Linked DNA regions of Homo sapiens: regions 1, 2 and 4 are each linked to region 3. Evidence: promoter capture Hi-C in 16 types of primary human blood cells and fetal thymus (Javierre and others, 2016). All regions are on one chromosome and are shown on one strand. The core of a region is centred on a gene start or on the middle of the fragment in contact, and the rest is flanking DNA. Distances in the headings are between cores, read along the strand shown.

Region 1 (2,700 bases), core at 200-2,699, 900 kb before region 3:
TCCAGTGCCAGGTTCCTGCGCTGTGTGCAGCCTTTCTAAGTGGCCAGCTTTTGCGGCACAAACAAGCTTCTCTAGCATAGCTCCTTCAGTATATATGTTGCTCCAGCACCAGGCTCCTGAGGTGGTGGGCAGCTTCTCCAAGGCCCAGATCCTGCAATATGCAGAAGCCTACACCACCTAGCAATGAGCAATTTCTCCAGGTACTTCGTAGTACCCGGTAGTTTCACAGCAGAATGGCTCTAAGTGGGGTACCTCCTATAAACAGCCTTTCAGCATTACAGGGCATATTATCAGCAAGTCCTAGAGAAGGGATTTCCAGCAACTTCCACTGGTGTGGCACAAGAGGAACTTCTCTGCCATTCACCAAGCCAAGGCCATATCCCCTCCAGCAATGGGGCACTGGCTCTCAGCCCTAGAAGGGCCTCTTCCTTAAGTGCACTGTCTCAGCCCTAGGGTTGCTGCTGCTGCTTATCTGCATTCCTCCGTTCTTTAGAGTTTCCTTTTCTCTTCCATAAAATCAAAATAATACCTGATACAAAAAGTGGACAAAGACCTTTAAGGAAAAAAAGAACTATAGACACTGGGTGCAATGGCTCACGCCTGTAATCCCAGCACTTTCGGAGGCCGAGGTGGTGGATCACCTGAGGTCAGGAGTTCGAGACCAGCCTGACCAACATGAAGAAACCCTGTCTCTACTAAAAATACAAACTTAGGGCCAGGTGCGGTGGCTCACACCTGTAATCCCAGCACTTTGGGAGGCCAAGGTGGGTGGATCATGAGGTCAGGAGATCGAGACCATCCTGGCTAACATGGTGAAACCCTGTCTCTACTAAAAATGCAAAAATTAGCCAGGCTTGGTGGCACATGCCTGTAATCCCAGCTACTCGGGAGGCTGAGGCAGGAGAATTGCCCGAACCCGGGAGGCAGAGGTTGCAGTGAGCCGAGCAGTGAGCCGAGATCATGCCACTGCACTCCAGCCTGGGTGACAGAGCGAGACTCTGTCTCAAAAAAAAAAAAAAAAAGTCAGGCATGGTAGCTCATGCCTATAATCCCAGCTACTTGGGAGGCTGAGGCAGGAGAAGTGCTTGAACCTGGGAGGCGGTTCAAGCAACAAGAGCGAAACTACGTCTCAAAAAAAAATTATAGGCAAATATTCATAACCAGAGATGCAATAATTTAGAACAAAATGTTATAAGGGCTAAATGGTAAGAGCTTATGAACACAAAGAAGGAAACAAAAGAAGGAAACAGGCCAGGCACGGTGGCTCAGCCTGTAATCCCAACACTTTGGGAGGCTGAGGCGGGCGGATCACCTGAGGTCAGGAGTTTGAGACCAGCCTGGCCAACATGGTGAAACCCCATCTCTACTAAAAATACAAAAATTAGCCGGGCGTGATGGTGAGCACTTATAATCCCAGCTACTCAGGAGGCTGAGGCAGGAGAATCACTTGCACCTGGGAGGCGGAGTTTGCAGTGAGCTGAGATCATGCCACTGCACTCCAGGGGTGACAGAGCAAGACGTTGTCTCAAAAAAAAGAAAGAAAGAAAAAAAAGGAGGAAACAACAGACACAGGTCTACTGGAGGAGGGAGAGTGGGAGGAGGGGGAGGAGCAGAAAAGCTAACTAGTGGGTACTGGGCTTAATACCTGGGTGATGTAATAATATGTACAACAAACCCCTATGACACGTGTTTACCTATGTAACAAACCTTCACATGTACCCCCAAACCTAAAATAACAATTTTTTTAAATTGCTAAATATGCCACAAAAATCATTTTAATATAGAAATAAAAGAGCTGTTTATGATTCTGAAAAAAAAAAGTTAGCAAATAGAATGCAACAGTACATAAAGAGGACAATACAACCTTGAATTTCCCAGCTTCAAAACTTACTGTAAAACTACAGTAATTAAGACAGTGTAGTACTCGCATAATCATGACATAAAAGATCAATGAAATAAAACTGACAGTCAGAAATAAACTCTAACATTTATGGTCAATTGATTTTTGACAAGGGCATCAAGACAATTCAATGGGGAAAGAATGGCCGGAGGTGGTGGCTCACGCCTGTAATCCCAGCACTTTGGGAGGCCAAAGTGGGTGGATCACTCGAGGTCAGGAGTTCGAGACCAGCCTGGCCAACATAGTGAAACCCTGTCTCTACTAAAAATACAAAATTAGCTGGGCATGGTGGTGCATTCCTGTAATCCCAGCTACTTGGGGGGCTGTGGCAGGAGAATTACTCAAACCTGGGAGGCGAAAGTTGCAGTGAGCCGAGATCGTGCCATTGCACTCCAGCCCAGGCAACAAGAGCACAACTCTATCTCAAAAAAAAAAAAAAGGTGGGCGGGGGTGGATAGAATAATCTTTTCAACAAATGATGCTGGGACACTGGAAATCCACATGCAAAAGAATGAAGTTGGATCCCTACTTTACATCATTTATAAATATTAAGTCAGGCTGGGTGCAGTAGCTCACACCTCTAATCCCAGAACTGTAGGAGGCCAAGGTGGGAGGATTGCTTGAGGCCAGAAGTTAAAGACCAGCTTAAGCAACATAGCAAAATCCCATCTTTAGTTCAAATACATTTATAAAAAATAAAAATAAGTTATTTCATGTTATATGTATTTTACCACAATAAAAATATTAATTCAAAACAGATCAAAGACCTAAATGTAAGTGCTAAAAGTATAAAACTCTTA
Region 2 (2,700 bases), core at 160-2,659, 610 kb before region 3:
AGAGAACCCACCCAGTCCTATTTTTATGCCTGGTATCCTGACAGAAAGAGACTGGTGATTAGTTTATATTGACATTGAGCATTGGGATTTATGTTTGATCGGTTTAGTTTAGACTGACCAAATTGTGGTTTTTGAATTCTTATTCTTACCATCATCAAAGCTGATGGTTTTAACCTTAACAGAATAAGCAGTGAGAATTCATACAAGATTTTCTTCTGAGTTGTATTGTTCATTGAATTAGATGACAATGGGGGAAGAAACGTGTTGGTTAAGAATGTGCTCGTTACCCTTGGTTAGTTTCTGCTGATCGCAATTGCTTAAGAGGAAGTTTGTCTTTGTAGGCAAATGAGAGACAGACCAGGAAGACCTGACAATCCAGTAGGGTATCTCTTACCTGGTTCTTAGTGTTTTAATGAAACTAAAAGATGGAAGAGTTCTGTGATGTCAGCGGGAAGCGTTTTTAGGAAATTCCCTCTCAGGTTGAGTTAACAATGAAGAGCTTCACAAAATGGAAAGCTGTGAAGTATAAACACTGGGACATTAATAGGAAAAATAAAAAAAAAAGCTTTGGCTCTTTGGCTTGTGATAGAGAGGTGTGTAAATATAAGCATATTGAATGTAGGAAACCATTGTATAGTAAAAAGCCTCTGATCCACAGAAGAAAAAGAAAGACTGAGGTTCTACTATTGTGAAAAAGGAACTTGAGTAATTTTTAATGTTTATTTTTTTAGGAGTTAACTGGAGAACATTGAACCAGTTTTGGTAACTAACAATAAAATATATTTTGGCCCTCTGAAATGACTACATGATAGATTCAAAGAGAAAGGGGGCAGAGGGGCAGGAAGAACTCAGTCCTGACACTACTCACCTGGCATCTGTTAATCTTTGTATTACTAGCATAAGGCCTGCCAGCAATTAGGGATTGAAGAAATATATATATACAATTAGGGATTGAAGAAATATATATGTGTGTGTATATATATATATATTTTTTTTTTTTGAAGGGAAGGGAGAAAAATTAACTCACTAGTACAGGGGAAAAGCCTGAGGATTCAAGAGGTCCAGAAATGAGTCTGTTAGTCAAATTGCTGTGGTTGTGTTTTGCTATAACTTGTTTTGCATTTTGGATAGTCGTACCTTGAAAAGCATAGTATACTGTTTTAGCAGTTCGCTACTAGCCATAGTTCCCTAGCTACTTCTGTCAAAATTGGGTTTCCAGTTTATTCTTAGGCTTAGGAGTAATACCACTTAATGGGAAAAACTTGAGAACTCATTATTTGCTTGGGATTTTACTTTTGTGATCTCCTTAAAGTTGTGAGTCTTAAGGTATTTTCATCTGATTGTTATGGCGAGGTTAATCATAGACCGGTATTTCAGTCACTTTAATTGCCTTACCTACAATATGAACAATCAGAACATCTTTAAGAGTCATTGCCTGTGGACTGTCAACAAATCTTAGAATTTAAAAATTACTTGGGTTCAGCTGGATTTGAGATTCTTTGTCACAGTTACAATCTTTGCTGCTAAACACAAAGACTACTTGAGTACCATTATAGTATGTCTTGCCACAGTCTTTTTTTTTTTTTTTTTTTTGAGACGGAGTCTTGCTCTGTTAACCAGGCTGGAGTACAGTGGCACGATCTCAGCTCACTGCAGCCTCTGTCTCCCGGGTTCAAGTGATTCTCCTTCCTCAGCCTCCCGAGTAGCTGGGATTGTAGGCATGTGCCACCAGGCCCGGTTAATTTTTGTACTTTTAGTAGAGATGGGGTTTCACCATGTTGGTCAGGCTGGCCTCACACTCCTGACCTCAAGTGATCTGCCCGCCTCGGCCTCCCAAAATGTTGGGACTACAGGTGTGAGCCATCGAGCCCAGCCTATAATGTGTTTTGTTTTAGCATTAATATTGTGGGCTTTAGGCTGGGCATGGGGGCTCACACCTGTAATCCCAGCCCTTTGGGAGGCCAAGGTAGGCAGATCGCTTGAGCTTAGGAGTTCGAGGCCAGCCTGGGCAACATGGTGAAACCCTGTCTCTACTTAAAAAAAAAAAAAAAAAGACAAGAAAAAAATATCATGGGCTGTAGAATTGCATGGCTCTTTGTTAATTAAATGCTTTTTTAAGTGGCAAGATCTAGGGAATTACCCTTTCAGGATGGCCCAACTGATTCATGTAGGCTGAAATATTTACTCTTCTGTATTTTCATTGTTCTCCATTTTGATGTTAATTAATTTAGGACCTTTGAGAGTAAAGCTTGATTTCTTCTCCTCTCTCAGAAATCATGGGCTTTCTGACCCTTGAACTGTGGAGTCCATAGTGCTCCATGAAAAGGGCATGGGCTCTACTACCTAGTAGATGTGGGACTTTGGATAGGTTACTTCTTTCTGCTCATCTTTTTTTGAGAATTAAATATGGGTAATTAATGTAAAGGGCTTGGCCAGTTAGTAGCTTTTCAATAAGGTAGGTATTACTATAATTACTGCAGGAGCATTTTGGCTATAATGTAGCAATTGTGGAAGTAGCAAATTTATGTTCGAGTAAGTTCAGTCTTTTTGTTTTTATCTTTGTTGTTCTGCTGAATGCTTTTTCTCTTTCCCTTTTAGTTTGTTTAGAATTTGCAGTCTAATTTGATATGGTAGAAAAAGAATATTGATATAATATGGACAGGACTTAATATTTAATGGTGTCACCTAGTAAATTGTATA
Region 3 (2,700 bases), core at 167-2,666:
ATTAACAAATCTCAGCACGGATAATGAACAAGATAAAATTCACGGTAGGATTTGCATTTACTTCAAAGTCTGAATAGTACAAAGATTAGGCTTCTGCAATTAATCCTACTGAGATCAAAAACCCAAGTGGGACTCTCCTTTTTGGGGCAGGACTACCGCAAGTCGAGGGGGGTGGTGCTCCCAAAATTCTGCGAATAGTCTTAGGTCTTGATCTGACTCAAACCGAACACTCTACGTGTTTCTTGTATTTAGAAAAGCAGTTTGGTCAATGCCGCACAAATGGCGGCATGCGAGGACGTCCCCCTAAAACGAAGCCTCATTAATATTCACGAAGCAGCAGCTACGGAGTCAAGCGTCTTGGTTTAGATTTAGTCTCTTATTGCCTTTACTAAGTACAACCTTCGTTAAGTGAGTTTATCTCTGGGCACCAGTATCCTCATCTGCAAAGTGGGGCTAGCTCCACCTACCGCAGTGAGACAGAAAAGGGGCTCAAAAAAATGAGAGCTGCCATCACAGTACATGCTGTAAGCACTGAACAAAGACCTCCAGAACCCTAGTGCTACCAGCCTCTTAACATTTCCCACTTCAACAGAGCCACAGCATCCCTGGCTCACGAGTGGCAACACGCCGGTGAGTCCCGGATGTAGCGCCCACACCCCCCTCCCTCCCCCAACCACGTGGCAACCACGTGCTCCCAGCGGTTGCGGCCTCCTCACGCCGCGCCGCGCCTCCCCACCCCCAGTAACTGGCCGAAGCACGCGAGGTAAGTCTACGTCCGGCAGCTCCAGGCTCTGAGGCCAGAATAACGCCAGGCTGTGCATCTACCCGCTCCAACAAGCAGGCCCATGCTTCCCGGTGAACCCAGCCTCCAGGACCACCAACCCGGGGCCTGGCATCAGAAGCCTATGAACCACCGCCGTTAGAAAATAAACCACGCCTGGAGCTCCGCCACGTATCCCCGGCAAAGGCCGAACTTCCAGGCGGCCGGTTCCACTTTACCTCAGGCCCCGGGCCTCGGACCGCTCACGCCCCAGACGCTTCAGGCCGCTCGTCTCCTCCCCCTTCACGCCACCGGCTCCCCCCGCGGCTCCAATCCCTCCAGGTCCAGGGCTCAGGCAGCTCTTCCCACCCGCTCAGGCCTCCCGTCGGTCTGGCGGTCTCCACCAGACCCGGTTGCAGCCGGATTCCCGCCCCTCACCCCCACCCTCACCGCCACCAGGCCCCGCTCGGCCTCGCTCCAGCTCCCCCCAGCAGTTACCGAAAAGATAGTTCTGGGGCCTCAGGGGGCTCATGTCCATGTCCATCGAATCTTCCATCGGGTGGCGGCACGCACTTAGGTAGGAGAGAAGGCGGACGGAGATAAAAGAACGCTGCTCCAGAGAACAACCGCGCAGGACGGAATCACACCAGGGAAAGGACGCAGGCTCCCCGCGCTTATATATAGACCCTGAAGATCTCGCGAGCGCTTCCCAAGTCCCGCCTCCGCGCGCGTGCTCCGAAGCCCTCCCACCCCCGTACCGTAGCCGTCCTGCGCAAGCGCTTTTCAACCCCACTCCTTTCTACCTCGCCCCCACCTCCTTCCAGGTACTCCGCGGGCTCCCACCGAGCACGCGCACTCGTACACTGGCCCCACCCCTCCGCTGCTGTCGCCTGTGCGCACGCGTGCTTTCCAGTCGTAACGCGCACTCCCCACCTCCAACCCTTCCACGTCCTCTCCCGCTCAAGCGCGCCGGCCTCCCGCCAAGAGTCTGCGCAGCCCACCCTGCAAAATGGCGTCGGCAGCCCTTAGCTGTGTAAGATATGGCGGGTTAGCCGGCTGCGAATGAGCCAGAGAGCACCTCGATTCACCTTTCCCCATCCCCTAGTGCCCTGCAAGCCTCCAAACAGGCGTAATCACTTCAGGAATTTTTTACTTGCCTGAAGGCTTCGGATCGCAGTTAATCGTTACCCCAAAGTTCAGGTGCCAGAGAGAGTGAATTGCGGCTTATTCTTTGTTAGGAAGGAAAGATGTAGTTACCGGCCAGACTTACGGAACTTTGTTTTTCAGCTCTGTCCTTCCTGAGAAAACATCTCCAAAGTCCTTATCTTTACGTAACTTGGGGGCCAAAAGGGGACTGAATCAGTCTCCAAATTAGCAAGGACATCGCCCTAAGAGAGCTCGGAGGGTGGGCCGACTCTGACTTCTTGCCGCTCTTAATCTTTAACATTCCTCCTGAAAGAAAGCGGGTGACTTGTAAGAACTACAGAAGCCTTAATTCGAATATTTGGGAGCGAGCATGGGAATTAACGTTTTAAGCTACACCTTGACAAACTCCGAGGCACCCCAGCACCCCGCGGGCATTGGGGCGTTCTGAAGACCCGTAATCTTTTTTTTTTAAGCCTCAACATATCAAACAAATTTAAGAAGTGAGGAATACAAATGATAGCCTCAGAAAGGAAGACACCCCCACCCCAAGGCATTATTTCTTACAGGAAAATTATAGAGACGATTTCAGTGTCTATCAAGAGAGGAATGAACAGTTAAATTATAACATGTCCATATTATGGGTTAGTTGTGGACACATACTAACGCATAATATGGACATGTTATAATTTAACTGTTCCTTTCTGAGAGCTCCTGTGTCACATAAAGCTTTGAGTCACTTAAATTTGTTATGCCTTTTTTTGTGTGTGTGTGGAGACAGAGTCTCGCTGTGTTGT
Region 4 (2,700 bases), core at 119-2,618, 510 kb before region 3:
TAGTGGCAAAACCTGTGGTTGTGATTTTTCAAATTGTAGAACATTGTGAAGCAATTGAAAATCAGTATGCAGAACTATTGGGTACAATTGTGCCCTGTACAGCTTGTACAGTTGCACATGGTAGTCTTGCATGATAGCACCAGAGATGATTGATGAGCAGACTTCCTGGTTTTAAGAACTGGAGAAGGTGTTTTTGGGGGATTTAGCTATTAAATTTGATGTTGTGCTTTAGCAGAATTCTTAGATGAGTTTCAAAGGCTAATCAGCCTCTGAAAAGATTGTGTATGGTTGTGTAAACCTAGAAGGATGTATACAGAATGTGAAAAGTGGTTCCCTTCTCTGGGAAATGGGGTTTAGGGATTTAAAAATTTTTGCTCATCTACACTTTATAAATTTTCTATAATGAACATGAACTAGATATGTTTAAAAGGGTTACCAAGCAGCTAGTGTCAACATGTAAGTGAAAAATTGCAATACAACTTTATGTAGTAAACCCCAGCACGGGAACATGAAAGCAGCCATACCCTCCTCACCTTATTTCCTTTTTGGATAAAGTTACCAGGCTAGTAGGTAGGTCTGAAGAATGATGTAAATAGATGGTAATATCATCATCTGCTGATTTTTCCAAATACCTCCGAGGACAGAATAGAGAGATATGGACTGGGCAATGGCACATATAGATGACTACAGACCGGATGTCGCAGTGTGGGTGCCCTGGGCATATTGATGCGGCATCAGTGCTAGCTTGGAGGGAAATATTATAATAATAGGTACTAATAGCTAGTGTCATGGGTGCTGTCCTTGGTTCTGACCCGTTTAACGTGTTTGCCAACATGGTTTAACATGTTTGCCTTAGTACTTTAGCCCATCATGCAGGTCTGGTGTGGAATACCCACTCTTCTGGGTGTGACAAAAATCAGAATTCTAGAGACTGAAATGGATGGGTCAGACAAAGCTTTGAAGGTGAATTATAGTAAGGATAAATATAAACCGCACAAAGCTGCCCCCCACCTTTCCAACTAGCTGTGCAAATAGAGCATTCGGGGAAATTGTTTCAATAGATGTTTTTGGGGGAGAGGCCTGGGATTTTATTCTAACTTACTGCCATCTTAGGCGTCTTCTGTGATATGACTATCAGATGAAGGCAGTGCAGCCTTTGACCACATTAACTGTAAATGACATGCAGGAAAGGACAGTGGTCCCAGTGTAGTCTTTATTCTTAGACCATAGCTTGGGTCTTTGATCTAGTCCAGAGTAAGAGAATTTTAGTATATGAAGGACCTGGAAATTATAACCAATGGTATAATAATAGTCATTCTTAGAATTGAAGGAACTTTAGTTTGTAAAGCATTTTTCATGCATCATCTCATTTTGATATTTTCAGAATCAAGTAGAGATTATCGTAATCTTATACAGATGAGGAAACTGACTCTGAAAGTTTAATAATTTACCTACATCTGGCCTTTCAACAACCAAGTTTAGTGCTATTATACTACTTCTAATTATTTTGAGAAAAGAGAACAGATATTAACCTTGTAGAGTGCTTGTCTATAAAATGTTTTCATAAAACTGTTGAATTTGATTCTGACAGACAGTGTAAGAAAGGATAGTTGTTACTGGTGATTACCATTTTGTATGTTAGGGCACAAAAATTCAAGGCACAGGGATGTTTCAGTGTTTGTTTCATGTCATAGAACTAGTAAGTGGTGAACCTGGGACTTGAAATGGGAATTTTCTGATGATAAGTTCTGTGTTCTCGTCCCTACACAGAATAAGCTTGGGGAGAAGCTTTATTTCTTGCAACTGTAGAAGACATACTTACCGCCACAGGATGGGAGTTTACAGGTGGCAACAGTGGTGGCCATGTTGATCATCTTCCCATTGTGAATGTCAGGCAGAGGCTGAAAGTGGTTTTCTTTGAGAGTATCCTTGTATCGTGGGAGGTTGAAGCCAATGACCTCTAAGATTCTAGGATTTGTAGACATGGGGCTATTGCTTTTGAGGATTGTCCCATCTGTTTAGGAACAGAAAATGGATACTCACGAAAGGGAGATGAAAAGATTGACAAAAATACATTTAAGCACAATCGACTTTAATTCTTGGATTGCCATTTAACTTTTCATAAGTTTTTCAAGATGAGTCGGTGTTTTGCCTTTTTTGTCTTCTGATCTCCCAGGGATTCACACCGGGTATGGATTAATGGGGATATGATTTGTTATGAGAGACAGTGAGTAAGATGGGAATGAACACAAACTTTGAAGCAAGAAATCCGAGTTCCAGTAGTAAAGCCAAGGGAGTGTAAAATCTTGAGTTCTTTACCTTTCTGTGCTTCATCTGTCAAACTTGGGGCGTCATTGCCCTATAGGAGTGCTGTGAGAGTTATATAAAAGAAAATGAAAAGTCTTATCTTAATATTTGACAAATAACAGAACTGTCCAAGGTCAGCTTTTACACACAGAGAAGAGTTGCTATCAATTGTTTTATCGTAAAAAATCAGAACCAAAAAGAAGTGTATATGTTTATGTACTCATGGATTTGAGTATCTGTAGAACTTTTGATATGACTAAAATATTTTACTTGGTTCAGGATTTCTTTATTCCTCTTATCTTTAAGGAAATGATGGCTGGTACCTTTCTATCTCTCTTCCCGTTCCTTCATTCCCTTTTCTGTTTTGTAGAGCAAGGCTTAGATCACATAGCA

The links. Contacts are between HindIII fragments. The CHiCAGO score rates a contact against its expected background, and 5 or more counts as called.
Region 1: a fragment that was not itself captured here is called in contact with the fragment with the promoter of NPM1 in region 3 in 2 of 17 cell types (total B cells and naive CD8 T cells); the score reaches 6.0 in total B cells.
Region 2: a contact is called between a fragment that was not itself captured here and the fragment with the promoter of NPM1 in region 3, in 2 of 17 cell types (fetal thymus and total B cells). The highest score is 5.9, in fetal thymus.
Region 4: a contact is called between a fragment that was not itself captured here and the fragment with the promoter of NPM1 in region 3, in 2 of 17 cell types (M2 macrophages and megakaryocytes). The highest score is 6.4, in M2 macrophages.

What each region holds. Positions count from the first base shown.
Region 1 is chr5:172,290,912-172,293,611 of GRCh38, reverse strand. All of the region lies in intron 1 of LOC100288254 (a long non-coding RNA gene), which reads right to left. Among named protein-coding and RNA genes, the nearest start is that of UBTD2, 8.5 kb to the right of the region's middle. The HindIII fragment of the contact is 2,761 bases long and covers 69-2,700 here.
Region 2 is chr5:171,997,690-172,000,389 of GRCh38, reverse strand. All of the region lies in intron 1 of FBXW11 (F-box and WD repeat domain containing 11), which reads left to right. Among named protein-coding and RNA genes, the nearest start is that of FBXW11, 7.6 kb to the left of the region's middle. The HindIII fragment of the contact is 1,683 bases long and covers 568-2,250 here.
Region 3 is chr5:171,386,565-171,389,264 of GRCh38, reverse strand. NPM1 (nucleophosmin 1) reads right to left here and starts at 1,416. Exons shown (of 11, transcript NM_002520.7): 1 at 1,259-1,416. The coding sequence starts at 1,316. It overlaps MIR3912 (microRNA 3912), which reads left to right and starts at 2,505; the gene lies at 2,505-2,609. RefSeq lists silencers at 696-755, 1,076-1,135. The HindIII fragment of the contact is 7,200 bases long and covers 1-2,634 here.
Region 4 is chr5:171,900,078-171,902,777 of GRCh38, reverse strand. FBXW11 (F-box and WD repeat domain containing 11) reads left to right here. Exons shown (of 14, transcript NM_001378974.1): 5 at 2,678-2,700. Among named protein-coding and RNA genes, the nearest start is that of FBXW11, 110 kb to the left of the region's middle. The HindIII fragment of the contact is 821 bases long and covers 958-1,778 here.